6 separate regions of the Homo sapiens genome follow, and regions 2, 3, 4, 5 and 6 are each linked to region 1. Evidence: promoter capture Hi-C in 16 types of primary human blood cells and fetal thymus (Javierre and others, 2016). All regions are on one chromosome and are shown on one strand. Each heading gives the region's core, a stretch centred on a gene start or on the middle of the fragment in contact. The rest is flanking DNA. Distances are from core to core; before and after follow the strand shown. Region 1 holds the start of LINC02086 (long intergenic non-protein coding RNA 2086). Region 2 overlaps SKAP1 (src kinase associated phosphoprotein 1). Region 3 overlaps SKAP1 (src kinase associated phosphoprotein 1). Region 4 overlaps SKAP1 (src kinase associated phosphoprotein 1). Region 5 overlaps SKAP1 (src kinase associated phosphoprotein 1). Region 6 overlaps SKAP1 (src kinase associated phosphoprotein 1).

Region 1 (2,604 bases), core at 48-2,547:
TGCTTCCTTCCCCTCCCAGGGCTTCTCAGAAAGTGACAGCTGACTTCCTTTTAGAACTGTGAAATCCCACAATTTCAGAGGATTTCAAATTCCTTGAACTTCAGGTTGAGAGCTATTTGGATTAATCAGAGAAGTTTGTGTCTGGAAAATGATGCCAGATTTAGCCAGAAAACTGAAAGACCAAATGCTTTACTTTTTTTTTCCTTTGTCTGATCTCAGTGCTTATCAGGTCAACCTTCACCTTTAAAAACACCCTGGTGGCAGTATTTCTTTGCCATCACTGTCTGTAAAGCAAAGGGCAAGCATCTCAGGGCTTTTAGTTGGGCCGGGAATTCAAATGTCTCCTTTCTCAAGAAGATGCCAAAGTGGCCACCCTCAGCCCACTTTCCGTCCTTACCTCCTCTGCCCTTTCCCCAGCTGTAGTTATAGGAATAATGGCCTTTAACTTGCAGAGATCATTAAGGCCAAAGCCCTCACTCCTTCCCATCTCTCCTCTTGGGGCCGTCTGAGTCGCTTCCTCCACGACCCTCCTCTTTTGAAGCACTCCCTAGTACTGTTAAAGGCCGAATTTGGGCTGGAGCGAAGATGGGGGCTCAGTCCAAAATAACCTAGATATTAAGTAATAGTAATGATTTTTTTAAAAGGTAACTATGAACTCTCAAGCCTCGACCACCCAGTAAAGTTCCTCCTTAAATTGTTGCCGGCCCTGGGTGCAGACACGCAAGGACTGGCCAGAACGCGAGAAACTTCTTCAAGGAGAGAGAAGTCAGGGCCCAAATTCCTCATGCTTTAAAGCAGTATAAGAGGAGAGAGTCCAAATTTTTACTCGTTAAACCTCCTCTTACCTCTTCCTCAGGTCTGTTCACTCCTTGGTCCAGGGACCGGAGCTCCTGGGCTTCGAGGTGAACCAGAGGGAACGTGGCTCCCCGCAGCAACCTTTTTGCTTCAGGGCTCCTCCTGGGGGCTGAGTGGTCCCCTTTGCTTTGCTATTCCCGCTGCGGCTCCTGGGGGGACAGCTCCGTGGGACCAGGTCTCTCAGGGGGTGGAGGGTCGCCGAAGTCGTGACCAGGAGTTGGAGACCGCTGCGTCCCTCCGCTGCGGACCTGCCTGGGACTGCGTGGAATGGACCAAGTCCTCCGTCTAGGATTCCCTAGTGCTCGACGGCGCGCACTCCGCAGTGCTCCGCTGGAGATCTGCACCTGTGTCCCGGGGCTGGGCGCAGAGTGAAGATCTCCGTGCACGCTGCTGACCGGCTCGGCGACTGCCTCCCTGCTGTGAGCAGGAGAACAGGAAGTCTGCCCGACAGGGAGGTGGCCGGGCGGGAGCGGCAGAGTCGGCGTTGAGAGGAGGGTCAGCTGCACCTCGGGATTCCGCGCGCCTTCAACTCCCTCTTGCGGACAGCCCAGCCGCGGGTTGGCGCCGCAGTGATGGAACCTGGGGAGGGCCTAGCTTAGAGTCCCAGCAGTCCAGAGGAGGGGACCAGAGCAGAGGATTAGGAACGGGGCTTTCATATCCAGCCTAGGCGCCCAGAAGCGGCACTTAAGGGGCGAAGGGAGGCCGCAATTACAAAGGTGCGCCCTCCGACGCCTCAACGTCAAGGGCCTGTAGATTCACAACCTCCTCTGTCGGGGATGGGGGAAGATGAGGTGGGATAGGGAGGCTATGTCCAGCCACCAGCGCAGGGAGTGGCTCTAAACGCTGACCCAACGCCTCGCCCCAAGCGGGATCTTGGCGCGCAGATAGACCGAGCCCGTGGTGGGGCGCCATGCCGGGCTCCCTCGCCCTTACCGAGTGAGCATCTTCTTCCCAATTTGCTGCTCAGAGAGGGAGTGGGTCCTAGTCTCTGGATCTCAGCGCTCACGACTACCTCGCTGCTCCTAACGAACGGTTCATCTGCTCTCTCCTGGCCGCCTGCGCCAGCGCCGCTCACCCACTTTTCCAGCCCTGGATCTCCTCTCCCCGGATGCGTCCTTCCTTCCCACAATTAACAAATGATCTAGCGAAACCCCGCCAGGTCCCCGGCAGAGAAGCACCTCCATCCGCCCTAACCAACCAATTAATCAGATCATTAAGGAGCCTGAGGAGTTGTAATTGGGTGGTTTGGGACGAGGGGGCGCTGAGGAGGTCATTAACCTCCCCGTAAAGATGGGGAACGGAGACGCGCCTGGCCGCCTCTGCCGCCCCTGCCGCCCCTGCCGCCCCTGTGGGCTCTTCTTAGCACGCGGGTTTTGGCCACTCCACCTGCCTGCTGCGCTCCAGTTCCCGCCTCCAGTCCAGCTATTTCACTTCTCTCTTTGTCATTCTCCGTCTTTTCTCTGGCAACCGTCCAGGGCCCCTTTCTTTGTGCCTACTTCTGTCTACCTGTCCAGCTGCCTCTTGCACCCTTTCTGTGGCCCAGCGGCCAAGAAAACTCAAAGGTCATGGCTGTTGGCCCCCGCTGATGATCTCTGGGCTCCCGGGTCTCAGACAATTCCTCAGGGCTGGCTAGAAATGGTGGGAGCTGGAGATTTGGACACTATACCCATTCCCCAAGAGAAGGGCATTTGCAAAGGGGAAGTGTTTCCTGAAACGTTCAATTCTCTTTCGGTATGAGATAGCTTTGGA
Region 2 (2,604 bases), core at 63-2,562, 380 kb after region 1:
GGGTTCAGTATGGCCCTTGCTTTGGAATTTTTACAGTTTGTTCCCCCATGACTCTGATCACTGCTACCAGGCCTGAGTTATGCTTCCTGCTGCTTACATTTAAAAGGTCACCAGGACAATGACTAGGTGACCGCCCATCACACAGTCTGTGAGTACATCCTCCAATAGCATCCTCAGCGTAAAACGCCCCCTACTGCTTCCAGGATGCCAGTTCACTAATAATTCTCAGGCCTTACTCCTAGCAACCAAACTAACCCTGTAGCTCCCAAGGATTCCTGCGTATATAAGGAGAGGGTAAAGGTTGGTGCCACATTTCTTTTTAAGGCTTTATAAGGCTCTATTCAGAGTGAGTCACAGGCATGTCACTCTTCTGTTGTTCACCAAAGCATAGATTCTTTACTGTCCACAGCATTAAAGCATGGCGTATTTTGAGAGATGGTTTTAAGTCATCCTTTCAACTAATTCAGATAAACATCCTTGCAGAGCATGGCATCAGAAATTTTCCAAAAATTGTCAAGGACTGACCCCTGCCCTCCTAGGACTTGCAGACTTAGGGGTCGTTCAGATCCAAACACAACTATAATAATTCTAATTCTAAAATGTGATAATTGCTATAATAGAAGTTTTTTTAAATACTGCAGGAGAGGGAGTGATTAAATTCACATCAGGGATTCCGAACAGCATTTTAGAGTATCTGGATTTTGAGGTGAATCTTAAAAGATGAACAGAAGAAGAATGTTCCAGGCAGGGGAACAGTAGTACTAAGAACGTGGCATTTGTTTTCACCAGGTTTCTTGCATCCCTTGACCACTTGGTTGCCTTTGTTGTTAAACTGTGTGTGTGTGGTTAACCAATTAAGGAAAGGAGAAAAGCTGATTCGAGATAGTCATGGTGTGAAAAAGCTTTGATCTGGACGTTTACCTTGATTTCTTTTCACGTGGTGATTCCGATATAAATAATGTCATTAACTTCCTTTTTTTCCATCTTACAACACATTTACCTGTTTCTTTCCATGTATATTGATACACACACACACCCCTCCAGTGTTTATTCTTGGGCATTTTCCAGTTTCTAATATGATGTCCACGAGTCAAATCAATTAAATTGAACCGATAATACAACTTAATGACCCTTCTTATCTTTGCAAGTAAACTTGAGAATGGAATGAATCTAAATGCCAACTCATTAACCTTGAAAGACAATTCAGGTGGTTTTATTCTAATGTTTCTAGTGTTTGTTTATAGTTGAGCACACTTTAAATATGTCTACATTGTTTAATAGCCTCTTGTACACAATTTTTTGATGGACTCAATTGATATTCTTCATTAAAGACCAGATCCTAATAAACTCATCTCCCTTACTCTTAAATTCACATTCAAACAGGAGATTTCTTAATGGCTTCTTAAAATGCTAAGTTACTAGTTTTAAATTTATGTATTTCATGCTGCTAGCCTCGGAGTTTCTTGTCCACATCAAATTCCTAATTATTTCTTTTAGATTTGTGGGAAACAATTGTCCAACACTTCTCTCTTTTCATTTTTTTCTAATTTTGTCATCCATGCTGCTCACTTTTCATGCTATGGTTGTCTTCATTAAGAGATTGGTGGGATTTTGGTCCCTAAAGACAAATAATTTATTAGCTCTTAATGGTGATCTGGAAGGTTACATTTCAGGAAATTATTTATTTTAGTATGTTTTTAACTTGTTTTTAAGGAAGCTTCCTCCTCCTTTTACATTTCCAACTGAGAAGGGCCATCCAGAAATGTCTCCACTGCCACCTACTTGCAGTTTGGAAATTTACATGCACCTGGCTTTTCAAATAAAGCTGACCTTTTTTCCTGCCAAGGCAAGATTACTGTCAAGAAAACTGTAGGTGGCATTGTGGATTCTCCTCATGTTTTTAAAGGCATGGGTTTTGTGAAGTTGCTAGAAAAACACCTACGTTATAGGATTTTTACTAACATTCGTAGCAACAGCTTTTTCTGTAAATGTATGTCTTCTTCTATGATAATTGTATTGCTGCAAATTATGTAGGTAACAGTCTAAGTGAAAATATCATTCCTAAATGCTTTATTCATATTTATATTCGAATTACATTGCTATAGTCATAATCCTTAATAATTTCTTATAAAGCACATTATATAATGCATTCATGATTACGCTATGGAAAGCTGTTACCTAACACATTGTAAAAGGCAGACATTTTAAAAAACAATGTATGTTCCTATTTAATACAGAGAGATGAGTTATCAGACACTGTGTGTATTTGTAATTTCATAAATAATAATAAGGTATGCATAAATGGCTCTTTAATACCCAATGTTATTATGTAGAGAAGAAAGTGAACTATTCTAATATAATAATAGATATGAGAATTTTGAATTATTTTTTCTTCTTATCGTAACAGTGACCACTCTTTGCCTAATGATTTCATTTTATTGCGAATCCTCTGCTTGAAAGCTTAAAGATTTGACATTGTTCTGCACTTTTAAAATATAGGTTATTCTGAAAATCCTAGCTTGAGTCATTTTTGCAGCATGTACTGTAGAGTCCCCCATTTTAAAAAATTACGGACATTCAAGCATCTGCCTAAAATTTTAATTG
Region 3 (2,604 bases), core at 36-2,535, 360 kb after region 1:
AGTGGATGGCATTTTGTAGTTATTGTTCCCTCAGATGGGTGGGTTTGCATTTATCAGAGGAGCACAAAAATGTGCAATTTTCCTTACCAAAAAAAAAGGGCAGTTTCTTTTTTTCTTTTCTTTCTTTTTTTTTTGAGACCAGATCTTGCTCTGTCACTGAGGCAGCAGCAGTGCAGCGAGACGACCTTGGCTCACTGCAACCTTGACCTCCTAGGCTCAAGCAATCCTCTCACCTCAGCCTACTAAGTAGCTGAGACTACAGGCGTACACCACAATGCTTGGCTGACTTTTTACTTTTTCGTAGAGCTGAGGTCCCACTATGTTGCCCAGGCTGGTCTTGAACTCTTGGGCTCAAGCAATCCTCCTGCCTTGGCCTCCCAAAGTGCTGAGATTACAGGCATGAGTCACCTTGCCCAGCCAAAAGCAGTTTCTTAGTTTTGATAGTTATACTGTGGTTATGCAATATGTTAGCTTTGAGGGAACAGGGTGAAGGATAGATGAGAACTCTGTACTATTTTTGCAACTTTTCTGAAAACTTAAAATTATTTCAAAGTACAAAGTTAAAAAAAATAAGGCATTAGTTTGGGTAGAGGTGAGGAATGAATGGAGGAAAATAGAGGAAACAGAATTGGCCATGAGTTGATAATTGTTGAAGCTGGATGATAGCTACAGGAGGTTCATTACATTATTTTCTATACATTTGTACATGTTTAAACTTTTTATAATTTCTTAATCTAATAAAATGAAACAGAAAGGCATAAAAGAAAGTATTAAGTGCAGTTCAACTTTGGGTAAACATAAGAATTTTCCAAATGATATTGTTAGCTGAGACAAACTTATATTATTTTGGGATTTCTGTTTTCTTTACCATTCTTATCGGTGCATGAAGAATCAAGTAAATGCTTGTGTGATTTTTTTAACTGTAGAATATGTACTCTTAGTTACACTTAGCTGTTGTTCTTCAGGTTTTCCTTATTGCTGCAGTACTAAAAATATATGCATTAGATAAACTAGGATTTTTAAAAAGTTGTCTTGCCTGTCCATAAACTAGTAAATATTAATATTTATTTTTTGTCTGTTTTTGTTTTATTGTTTTTCTAAACAATATGAGTATGAGGGCATGCCTAATGGCATATATTTTCTCATTGATTTTATAATAAACTTATACTGTTCCAAAGATAATAAATTATACTAGATCAACACTTATGGGTAAGAGAAGTTTTCAGTGCCATGTTAAAACTTAAGCCATGGATCACTAGATGGTGGCCACAGTGTTAATTTCTTATTTTCTAAACCTCTCCTTTTAAAGATACCTAAATTAGATTTTCCTTACAAGTAAATTCCCTTAATTTGTTTGGAAATATAAAGGTTTTTCTTTAAAGCACAATTTGAAAGCACGCTGCCTCTGCCTGCCAGCCTAAATGAGCAGCATTTGATGTGCGATCAGGCAGTCTCCACTTGGAGAGCATCACAGGCACTAGGAGCAGTGAGAAGAACCCCATCAGGGAGTGCCATGACAATGACAAAGAGCTTCATGGTTTCTTATTGGGCACCAGTAGACTGAAGTGCTTTAAAACTTGAGCTCTGGGCCAGGTGCAGTGACTCACGCCTGTAATTCTAGCACTTTGAGAGGCCGAGGTGGGTGGATCACGAGGTCAGGAGATCAAGACCATCCTGGCCAACATGGTGAAAACCCATCTCTACTAAAATACAAAAAATTAGCCGGGCATGGTGGCATGTGCCTGTAATCCCAGCTACTTGGGAGGCTGAGGCAGGGGTATCGCTTGAACTCAGGAGGCAGAGATTGCAGTGAGCCAAGATCACGCCACTGCACTCCAGCCTGGCAACAGAACAAGACTCCATCTCAAAAAATAAAAAATAAATAAAAATAAAAAAGTAAAAAAACCTGAGCTCTGGGTTTAGACTGCCTAAGTCTGAGTACAGGTTCTGCCTTGAGTGTTTATAACAGCTTTATTCACTGAAACTGAAAAGAACCCAAGTATCCATCAACTGGTGAGTAGATAAACAAATTGTGTTTCTATTCAGCAATAAAAAGGGATAAACTACTGATACACACAACTACATGGATGAATCTTAAAGGTTTTATGCTAATTAAAGAAAGCCAGACATAAAATATTAGATACTATATGATTTCATGTATTTGACATCCCTAAAAAGTCAAAGCTATAGACACAAAAATAGATCAATGATTGGCAAGGCCAGTGATAGAAAGAGTGGATTGACTACAAAGGGGCAAAAAGGAGCTTTTCAGAGTGATGGAAATATTCTATATCTTGATTTGGTAGTGGTTATACAACTACTATATATATATGTATATATTTGTCAAAATTCATTAAACTGTACATTTAAAAAGAATTGTGTTTTTTGTGTGTCATTTTTTGTTGTTGTTTTTTGTTTGTTTTTGAGACAGAGTCTCACTCTGTCACCCAGGCTGGAGTGCAGCCTGTCATCCAGGCTGGAGTGCAGATCTCGGCTCACTGCAACCTCTGCCTCCCAGGTTCAAGTGATTCTCCTGCCTCAGCCTCCCAAGTAGCTGGAATTACAGGCGCCCACCACCACAGCCAGCTGATTTTTGTATTTTTA
Region 4 (2,604 bases), core at 62-2,561, 340 kb after region 1:
GCCTGTAATCCCAGCTACTTGGGAGGCTGAAGTAGAAGAATTGCTGGGTTCAAGCAATTCTTGAACCCAGGAGACGGAGGTTGCAGTGAGCCGAGATCACGCCACTGCACTCCAGCCTGGGTGACAGAGCGAGACTCCATCTCAAAAAAGAAAGAAAGAAAGAAATCTAGATTCAATTCAAATACTCATGGAGTCTCTACCATGTGCAATGCATAATGCTAGGTGCTGAAGGAATATAAAGATAGGTAATTGGGAATCTCCCTGAAAATTTATAATTTGTTGGATATTGGGCTGATGGGAAGGGTTGGTGGGAATAGAGAGGAAACAAAACAAGAAGATCTTTGCTCATCTTCCAAGGAGCAGTTTCAGTAGTCTACTAAAAACAAGCCTAGTTATTAGTGATCTTAGAGTGAGTGAGTACTCAGAAACTAGAGGCTGTGGGTATATGTTACCTAAAAAAAGTTGTTTGGTGAAAAGAATGAAAGGGATAAATGGTAGGAGGAGAGAGGAGCTTTTTGGTTATTTTGTTTTAGTTTTAGGAGAGGGGAGATCTGAGCTGATTTTCCAGCATATGAGAAAGAACCAGTCTAAAAGAGAAGATAATGGGTAGAATCAGGTCCTGGAAAGGTAGAAATGGGTCAGTCAATACTATACAAGAATCAGTCCTGGCTAACAGGCAGGGGACTCATTCCTTAGAGAAAGGAGTTAAAGGATAGAAGAGAATGAAGATACGGAGATATTTTTACTTGAAGGGAGGAGAAGGCAAAGCCATTTACTAAGAGTAAAAAGCCATGGAGCAGGGACTGGCCTAGAGCTTAGGGAGACTGGAAAGTGGAAGTTTAAGGCAGCCATTAAAGAGATGTGACAGGATTAAGAGAAAACACATTATTGTTAAGCAGTAATTAATATATACAGTGAGAACCATCTCAATCTATTCAACAAACATTAATCATTAAATAGAGAATTCATGGAGGAGCAAAATGCTAAAAGATTCTGATCCACTTCATTTTTAGGCTCACCCCTCATCACTCTCTCTTGGTATAATATGTGGTTAATAAATATAATATAGCCTCCAGACCATGGAAAATCACATGCAATCTCACACTGAGCTGTCTATCCCTTTGACACCAGGACCCAGTCCTGAAGAAGTATCACATTCACAGAAGCACAACAAAAGTAGGAATTTCTGTCCTCAAAAATACCTGTAGCCCATTTTACAAGGCAACTTCTCCTCCTTTTTCAAAATCCCCAGAACTCCCTGGAGCCTCTCACTCTCCTGTCCCAGAACTCTCTCACAGTCCCATGCCATTCTGCCCTGTCTCTCTTAATCCTTGAAGATATGGGGTGGAGACTGCTTCTTTGCTCCCTGTCTTCTACTGTCAACCTAAGTATCTTATTCTCCACATTCTCCCCATGCTGCATCACAAGGCCAAAACACTTGACTGAGAATGGCAGAGCCCTCCTTGGATGATGGTGAGCCTGGGAAGGACCTGAACTAGTGAAGCCAGAAACTCTTGAGCACACAGGGGAAATAATAAGCTAGGAACACTCATAGTTAAAAACAGTTTTCTCATAACACTGCAGCTTCATGACCTACACTTATTTTGAAGAGGATTTGAAACCATGACCTGAAATACTGAGCCTACCTTTCATCTTACCTCCTACATGTGAAACTCATGCCCCAAACCCCAGCCTCACAGGATTATTCATCATCATTCCGCAAACCCAGCCCTGTGCCTTCCACCTGGAGTGCCTTTCCCATCCTCCCATCCACCCACTCATCCTTCCAGGCCATGCTCAAACTCCCTCTTCTCTAGCTGGCTTCCTAGTTGCCCCAGGTTGGACTCAACCCCTTCCTGTCTTGCATTTTACTTGATCAGTTATCATAGCTGTTGCCTACCACCATTTACCTGCATTGTATTACATACACTGGCATCTCCAAAGGATTGTGGGCTGTCAGCACATATTAGACATTCAATAAATGTTTGTCAGATTGATCCCCTAAAATGTGATTGTATGATCCAGATTTTCAAATCACACACACACACACATACATATATATTCTGTCATATCCTAAAGAACTTTCAAAGAACCTTGAAATAATAGTAGTCTCCTGTTCTATACTGTGTCTTAATGTGCCACAGAGTGACAGCCTCCCCCTCTTCCCCCTTCAATGATATCTGGAGGTTTTCCTCCCTTAGACATCAGAAATACTGAAGGATGGAAAACACTATACCAGATAGATCCAAGATAAATGTTTACTTCCTTCAGTAGTCTAGCTTATGAGTATAAAGCCAAATGCTGGACAGTACATTGACACCACAAAGACAAAACGAAATAGACAGGAACTTTAGAAAAGGTAAAGGAGGCAGCCAATAAGGGCATGCTCCATTGTGTATGTTACAACTCAGGGAAGAGAAAATGGCAGCAAAACCAAATCTACATAAGAGTTTATATCCCTTTCACTACTGAAATATGGTTTATGCTGAAATGCCAACATTCTGTGATCACCCACATGAAATGAAAATGCTCATATTTATATGGTGCTTTTCGTCTAGAGAATCCCAAGGTGCTTTATAAATTATAAATACGAATGTTCCTTAT
Region 5 (2,604 bases), core at 28-2,527, 320 kb after region 1:
AAAGCCCAAAACCTCATGTATTCAAAAGTTATTCTTACTGTTATGTGTACTTCTTTAAAGGTTCATTTCTCCTTTTTGTTTCCACTTCAAGAAGGTTATTTACATTAAGTTGGGAATTCTCGAGCCTTTGAATAAACTGAAGCTAATAATAGAAATATTAATTTTTAAGAAAGCAAATATTGTTTTTCCCTGAAGCAAGGTCTTGCTCTGTCTTGCCCAGGCTAAACAGTGGTGCAATCATGACTCACTGCAGCCTCAACCTCCCATGCTCCAAGCGATCCTCCCACCTCAGCCTCCAGACTAGCTGGGACTATAGGCACATGCCATGCCTGGCTAATTTTTAATTTTTTTTGTAGAAATGAAGTCTCACTATGTTGCCCAGGCTGGTCTTGAACTCCTGGCCTCAAGCAGTCTTCCTGCCGTGGCCTCCCAAAGTGCTGGAATTACAGATGTGAGCCACCATGCCCAGTCACAGAAAGCAAAGATTTTTAAAAGGACAGTTACAAATACAAATACAACCATTTGTATTATCCCTACATTATTCCAAACACATGAGAGCCTAATTGTGACGGTGATGACAGCAAATTGTGTAAGTAGCTTAGTGTGTCAGAAAAGCCAAGTGAATGAAAATATCAGTCTTGATGTAATTATAAGTGGGACCTCTTAAGTGGGCCACCCAGCGTGAAATCAAAGTGAGCCAGCCTCCTGCTTTGGGTATAAGATAATTGCCCTCTGAGGTCAAAAAGAAATGATGTTCTTGATATAGTATTGCACCATTAGGTGTATTATTGAATTTGGGTTGGTGAGAGTAGAGCTTTTCTCTGAAACATCTGTTTGCTGTCAGGGCAGCATGGCAAAAGGGATGGACCAGTGGTCTGTTTCAACATGGCAATTCTTGCAAAAGAATGTAGAAATATGAATGTCTTCCTAGGGGCTTATGGGCTTATGAATTATGGTGCTTTACATGAAATCTAAAAATCAGTGGTATTGTTCATGTGTCATAATGAAAGTTTATTTGCGCTTTTCTGGTGTCATTAAGTCTTTTTACAGTATTACACTTTCTAAATCTTTTCATTTTATTGATACTTCTGTTTTGCATTATTTTTCTCTCATACCTGTTGATTGCATTTTTTTCTTGATTTAACTCCATTTTATTTTATTCTTGAAGTACTTCAGTTTCTACCTCTACCCTTTGATTGCTTCTCTGTTTTTGCTGATTTTTGTATGATGCCTTCTAACTTAATGTCTCATGAGAGTTTAATATTTGTTCTAGTTTCAGCCATTGATAAGCATAAAACACATATCCATCCTGAAAAACTCAACTAGATTCTTATTTGAATTATTTCAGACCTCGAAGTGACCTGAAGTTACTTCAGTTCCTTTTGTTTACAGATAAAGATACTAAGATGTAGAAATGTTAAGCAACTTGCCTATTATCATTTGTTTTCAAGTTTTATTTAACTTTTGGTACATGAAAATTATTCATATCCAAGTATATTTATTTCAAAAGGAAATTTTTATGAACATTTTATATGACCAGCTTACTGGTCTAAGTATAGAATTATGCTTTGCTAGTCCAAACCTTTGAGCACTTTCATTTCTTCATCTTTAAAATTGTTCCTATTACATAACTTGATTTCTTAATTTAATTCAATTTTTAAAACGTTTAATGCCATGTTTGTGATAGTTCTACTTCTGTTTGGGAATTGACCCCTAAAAAAGAAATGAAGGTCAACTGATCATCATTTAAGTTTAGTCTTTATTTTATGTTCGTCTTTTTTATATCAACATTGAGATACTTTTTTTCCTCAATTATCATACAAGGGATTGGTGATTTTTCATAGGTTTATTTCCATTGGGAGTCCCTTCTCTTCATTCAGCCTTGTCAACAGATGAATGCCCATGAACATCCGTCTGAGCATAGAGTCAAGGATCATCATTCAGTATGGCTCGGAGAGGCTGGCACTTTTCGCTCCTGCATGAGCATCTGGGCCTCAGATTGTCATGGCCAGGATGTGACTGTCAGCCCTGCCCATGATCCAGGGGCTGGATACCTGCCACATGTTGGATGTGATAAGGGAGAAGATGAAGGATCAGATTGGGATTTTTTTCCACAAAGGCTACTAGGGGAGATAAGATCTGTATGAAATAAGAATGGTATAAAAGAAATAGTGATAGATACCATAAGGCAGATATGGTTTCAGTGTTATGCAAGTTGGGGAAAGAGAGAGCTGATTTTTAGCAGTCTGATCAATAGCTCATCTTAGCGTGGTGGTCTCTGTCATGTGAACATTCTTTTGAGGTTCATATTCAAATGAACATTAGGTGGAATGTCTGCCAATTGCTTTGACTATTCTTCATCTATTCATTTATCATTGAGGACCTACTATGTGCACGACCTTAGACTAGTACTGGGGACACAGAGACGAAGTTGACAAAACCCTTAGCCACATAGAGCTCATATTTTACTGGGGCCGATATGTTATATAATGTCAAGCCATGGTAAATGGTCTGAAACTAAACACAACAAAAAAGACTGAAAGGCAGAGAGAGAATGACTAAAAAGGGTGACAGTAGATCTCTTTGAGAACAGGGTGATCAGAG
Region 6 (2,604 bases), core at 33-2,532, 300 kb after region 1:
GGGAAACTGGGTGAAGGGTATGTAGGAACTCTGTACTATCTTTGCAACACTTACATAAATCTAAAATTATTCCAAAATAAAAAGTTCACTAAAAAAAAAAGCCCTTCCTGATCTGCATGTTTTTTAAAACACTTAGAATGTGAGCATGTACTTTTTTTCTTTCTTCTTTTCTTTCTTTTCTTTTTTTTTTTTTTTGAGGCAGGGCTCACTCTGTTGTCTAGGTTGGAGTGCAGTGGCACAGTCATGGCTCACTGCAGCTTTTACCTCCTTGGCTCAAACGATCCCCCCATGTCTCAGCCTCTCAAGTAGCTAGGACCACAGGCACAAGCCACCATGCCTGGCTAATTTTTCTACTTTTTGTAGAGATGGGGTATTGTCATGTTGCCCAGGCTGGTCTTGAACTCCTAGGCTCAAGCCATCCACCTGCCTTGGCCTCCCAAAGTGCTGGGATTATAGGTGTGAGCCACTGTGCCTGGCTAGGTTCTTTTTCTTTAATGGTGGATTTGCCACATTTTTGAAGCAAGCAGAGAACTTTAAGTCCAGAATAATAGTTTATACATAATGTTCAGTATATCCTACAAAAGTTAAATTTTGCTTGGCAATTCCAGTACTTTTTTTATTTTTAAGGATTTTTATTTGGCTTAAAATAAAAATTCCATTTAACCTTGCAGCTCACTTTCAGGTTACTAGCCAGGCAGTCCATTTAGATTGTGTTGATAATATAATTTTAGTGGACTTCCAGTGATGTAAAATTTGAGCATTTTAATCCTCAGTCCAGTATTTGAGAATTTTTCTGGTTACTATGGAAATTACACAGTGATGCTTTAAGCATAGCTATAAACTTTGTATACTGATAAGTAAACTAATAAAAGAGAGTATTTCTTCTGGCTTTGGCCAATGACTATTGTGTGAGTTTTCTACAATTTTTATTTCTCTTTTTCATAATAAACTTTATAGTTTATTTCTAAAGTCCTATATTTGTAGGTGTTCAACTCAGTTATGGACATCTACCTACCATACAGCATTTGAAGAAGAGTCTAGATATGATCATCTAATTTATGGAAAGAGAAAGCTACAGCCATTCTCTTTTTATCATTTTATAACCTCCCTGGCTTTCTAGTTTAATTGTAGGAAATAAACCTTTAAAGTGAGGCAATACAGATTCTATGTAGGTTGTTTGGTTTCACAGCTCCCTAGTTGAAATCCAAGGCCAAAACTCTACAGTATTTACTGAGATTAGCATTGGTGATTTCCTTTGGAAATTAGTATTTGAGATAATATTAAATTCAGTTGAAAATCCTATTTTCATGTTTGTGAAATGAAATAAGCAGCTGTCAGTGTCCTTTTATTAGCAGACTGTACCTCTATTTGGGGGATTTTAAGGAAAGCCATTTGCAATACAGAGCCTTTTCTTCCGGTTTCTGAATGAGCTAACATCTTCTGTCTGAACCTTTTAAAGTATCATAATAACATCAGTCACTTCTACAGAATACAATCCAATGTATATTGAAAACACACAAAAGAGATTAGCATTAATTGCATAATTCAGTATTGTATATACATTACCTTTTATCAAAGCCATTTTACAGGACAAATATTATCTTCTTAGGGCTTTTAGAATTCCTAAGAGGTCGGTTGCCTAGGCTGTAAACTAGAATTACAAAGAAAGAACTTTGTTAACGTTGCAGAACAAATAGGAATACAGTCCAGCAAAGTCTAGGTTTTCTCTATTTTTATAATACTTCTCTTACTTTTCAGAGAAAGACTATTGACCTTGCTATATTATATTATGTATAGAAGGTTAAACCTTTGGGTCAGTCCTATTTCATTTGAAATAGAGGCATGCAGGGTAAAGGTTGTAATTATTGGAGACATAGTATATATGAATATAAATTTAATTCTTTTTTTTTTTAGATGGAGTCTCGCTGTTGTCACCCAGGCCGGAGTGCAATGGTGCAATCTTGGCTCACTGCAACCTCTACCCCCCGGGTTCAAGCGATTCTCCTGCCCTAGCCTCCCAAGTAGCTGGGATTACAGGCGCCCACCACCACACCCTGCTAATTTTTGTATTTTTAGTGGAGAGAGGGTTTCACCATATTGGCCAGGCTGATCTTGAACTCCTGCCCTCAGGTGATCCGCCTGCCTGGGCCTCCCAAAGTGCTAGGATTACAGGCGTGACCCACCATGCCTGGCTGAATATAAATTTATATAGCTATGTTTTTATTTTAAGTATGATAGAGAAATTTCTTTCTGGTGGCAAGAGGTATTCCCACTATAAGCTAACAGTTCCTAAGTTTTAGTGAGAGAGTTACTTGAGTGGAAAATTTTTCATCCAGGTAAGTCAGTTCTTGAACCTATTTAACTGTTTCCTATATGTTAATGGATAGTGGCCATGTTCATCATCCAGTAAAAGATACACTTTTTTTTCGAATACTGGAAGAGATCATACATAGATCCTTTTATAAGGATGTATCCTTTTATAAGGATGCCCAAAGATTAACCTTATTTTCTGTCTTTTTTGTCCCTCAGGGGGAGACATTGGACAGGACAGCTCTGATGATAATCACAGCGGGACTCTTGGCCTGTCCCTCACATCCGATGCAC

The links. Contacts are between HindIII fragments. The CHiCAGO score rates a contact against its expected background, and 5 or more counts as called.
Region 2: a contact is called between a fragment that was not itself captured here and the fragment with the promoter of LINC02086 in region 1, in 8 of 17 cell types (M2 macrophages, megakaryocytes, M1 macrophages and 5 more). The highest score is 12.2, in M2 macrophages.
Region 3: a contact is called between a fragment that was not itself captured here and the fragment with the promoter of LINC02086 in region 1, in 4 of 17 cell types (M2 macrophages, M1 macrophages, erythroblasts and 1 more). The highest score is 9.8, in M2 macrophages.
Region 4: a contact is called between a fragment that was not itself captured here and the fragment with the promoter of LINC02086 in region 1, in 1 of 17 cell types (M2 macrophages). The highest score is 5.6, in M2 macrophages.
Region 5: a contact is called between a fragment that was not itself captured here and the fragment with the promoter of LINC02086 in region 1, in 5 of 17 cell types (M2 macrophages, M1 macrophages, erythroblasts and 2 more). The highest score is 7.0, in M2 macrophages.
Region 6: a contact is called between a fragment that was not itself captured here and the fragment with the promoter of LINC02086 in region 1, in 2 of 17 cell types (M2 macrophages and endothelial precursors). The highest score is 6.5, in M2 macrophages.

What each region holds. Positions count from the first base shown.
Region 1 is chr17:48,641,320-48,643,923 of GRCh38, reverse strand. It overlaps LINC02086 (long intergenic non-protein coding RNA 2086), which reads right to left and starts at 1,297. Exons shown (of 8, transcript NR_189645.1): 1 at 1-1,297. All of the region lies in intron 1 of LINC03057 (long intergenic non-protein coding RNA 3057), which reads left to right. RefSeq lists enhancers at 703-1,699, 1,700-2,604. The HindIII fragment of the contact is 12,737 bases long and covers 1-2,604 here.
Region 2 is chr17:48,259,063-48,261,666 of GRCh38, reverse strand. The region is part of intron 4 of SKAP1 (src kinase associated phosphoprotein 1); the gene reads left to right. Among named protein-coding and RNA genes, the nearest start is that of SKAP1-AS2, 34 kb to the left of the region's middle. The HindIII fragment of the contact is 815 bases long and covers 905-1,719 here.
Region 3 is chr17:48,280,307-48,282,910 of GRCh38, reverse strand. The region is part of intron 4 of SKAP1 (src kinase associated phosphoprotein 1); the gene reads left to right. Among named protein-coding and RNA genes, the nearest start is that of SKAP1-AS2, 13 kb to the left of the region's middle. The HindIII fragment of the contact is 3,099 bases long and covers 1-2,604 here.
Region 4 is chr17:48,299,018-48,301,621 of GRCh38, reverse strand. All of the region lies in intron 4 of SKAP1 (src kinase associated phosphoprotein 1), which reads left to right. The region is part of intron 1 of SKAP1-AS2 (SKAP1 antisense RNA 2); the gene reads right to left. Among named protein-coding and RNA genes, the nearest start is that of SKAP1-AS2, 6.0 kb to the right of the region's middle. RefSeq lists an enhancer at 1,437-1,526. The HindIII fragment of the contact is 9,512 bases long and covers 1-2,604 here.
Region 5 is chr17:48,316,451-48,319,054 of GRCh38, reverse strand. All of the region lies in intron 4 of SKAP1 (src kinase associated phosphoprotein 1), which reads left to right. Among named protein-coding and RNA genes, the nearest start is that of SKAP1-AS2, 23 kb to the right of the region's middle. The HindIII fragment of the contact is 4,284 bases long and covers 1-2,604 here.
Region 6 is chr17:48,345,932-48,348,535 of GRCh38, reverse strand. SKAP1 (src kinase associated phosphoprotein 1) reads left to right here. Exons shown (of 13, transcript NM_003726.4): 4 at 2,530-2,604. Among named protein-coding and RNA genes, the nearest start is that of SKAP1-AS2, 53 kb to the right of the region's middle. The HindIII fragment of the contact is 3,432 bases long and covers 1-2,604 here.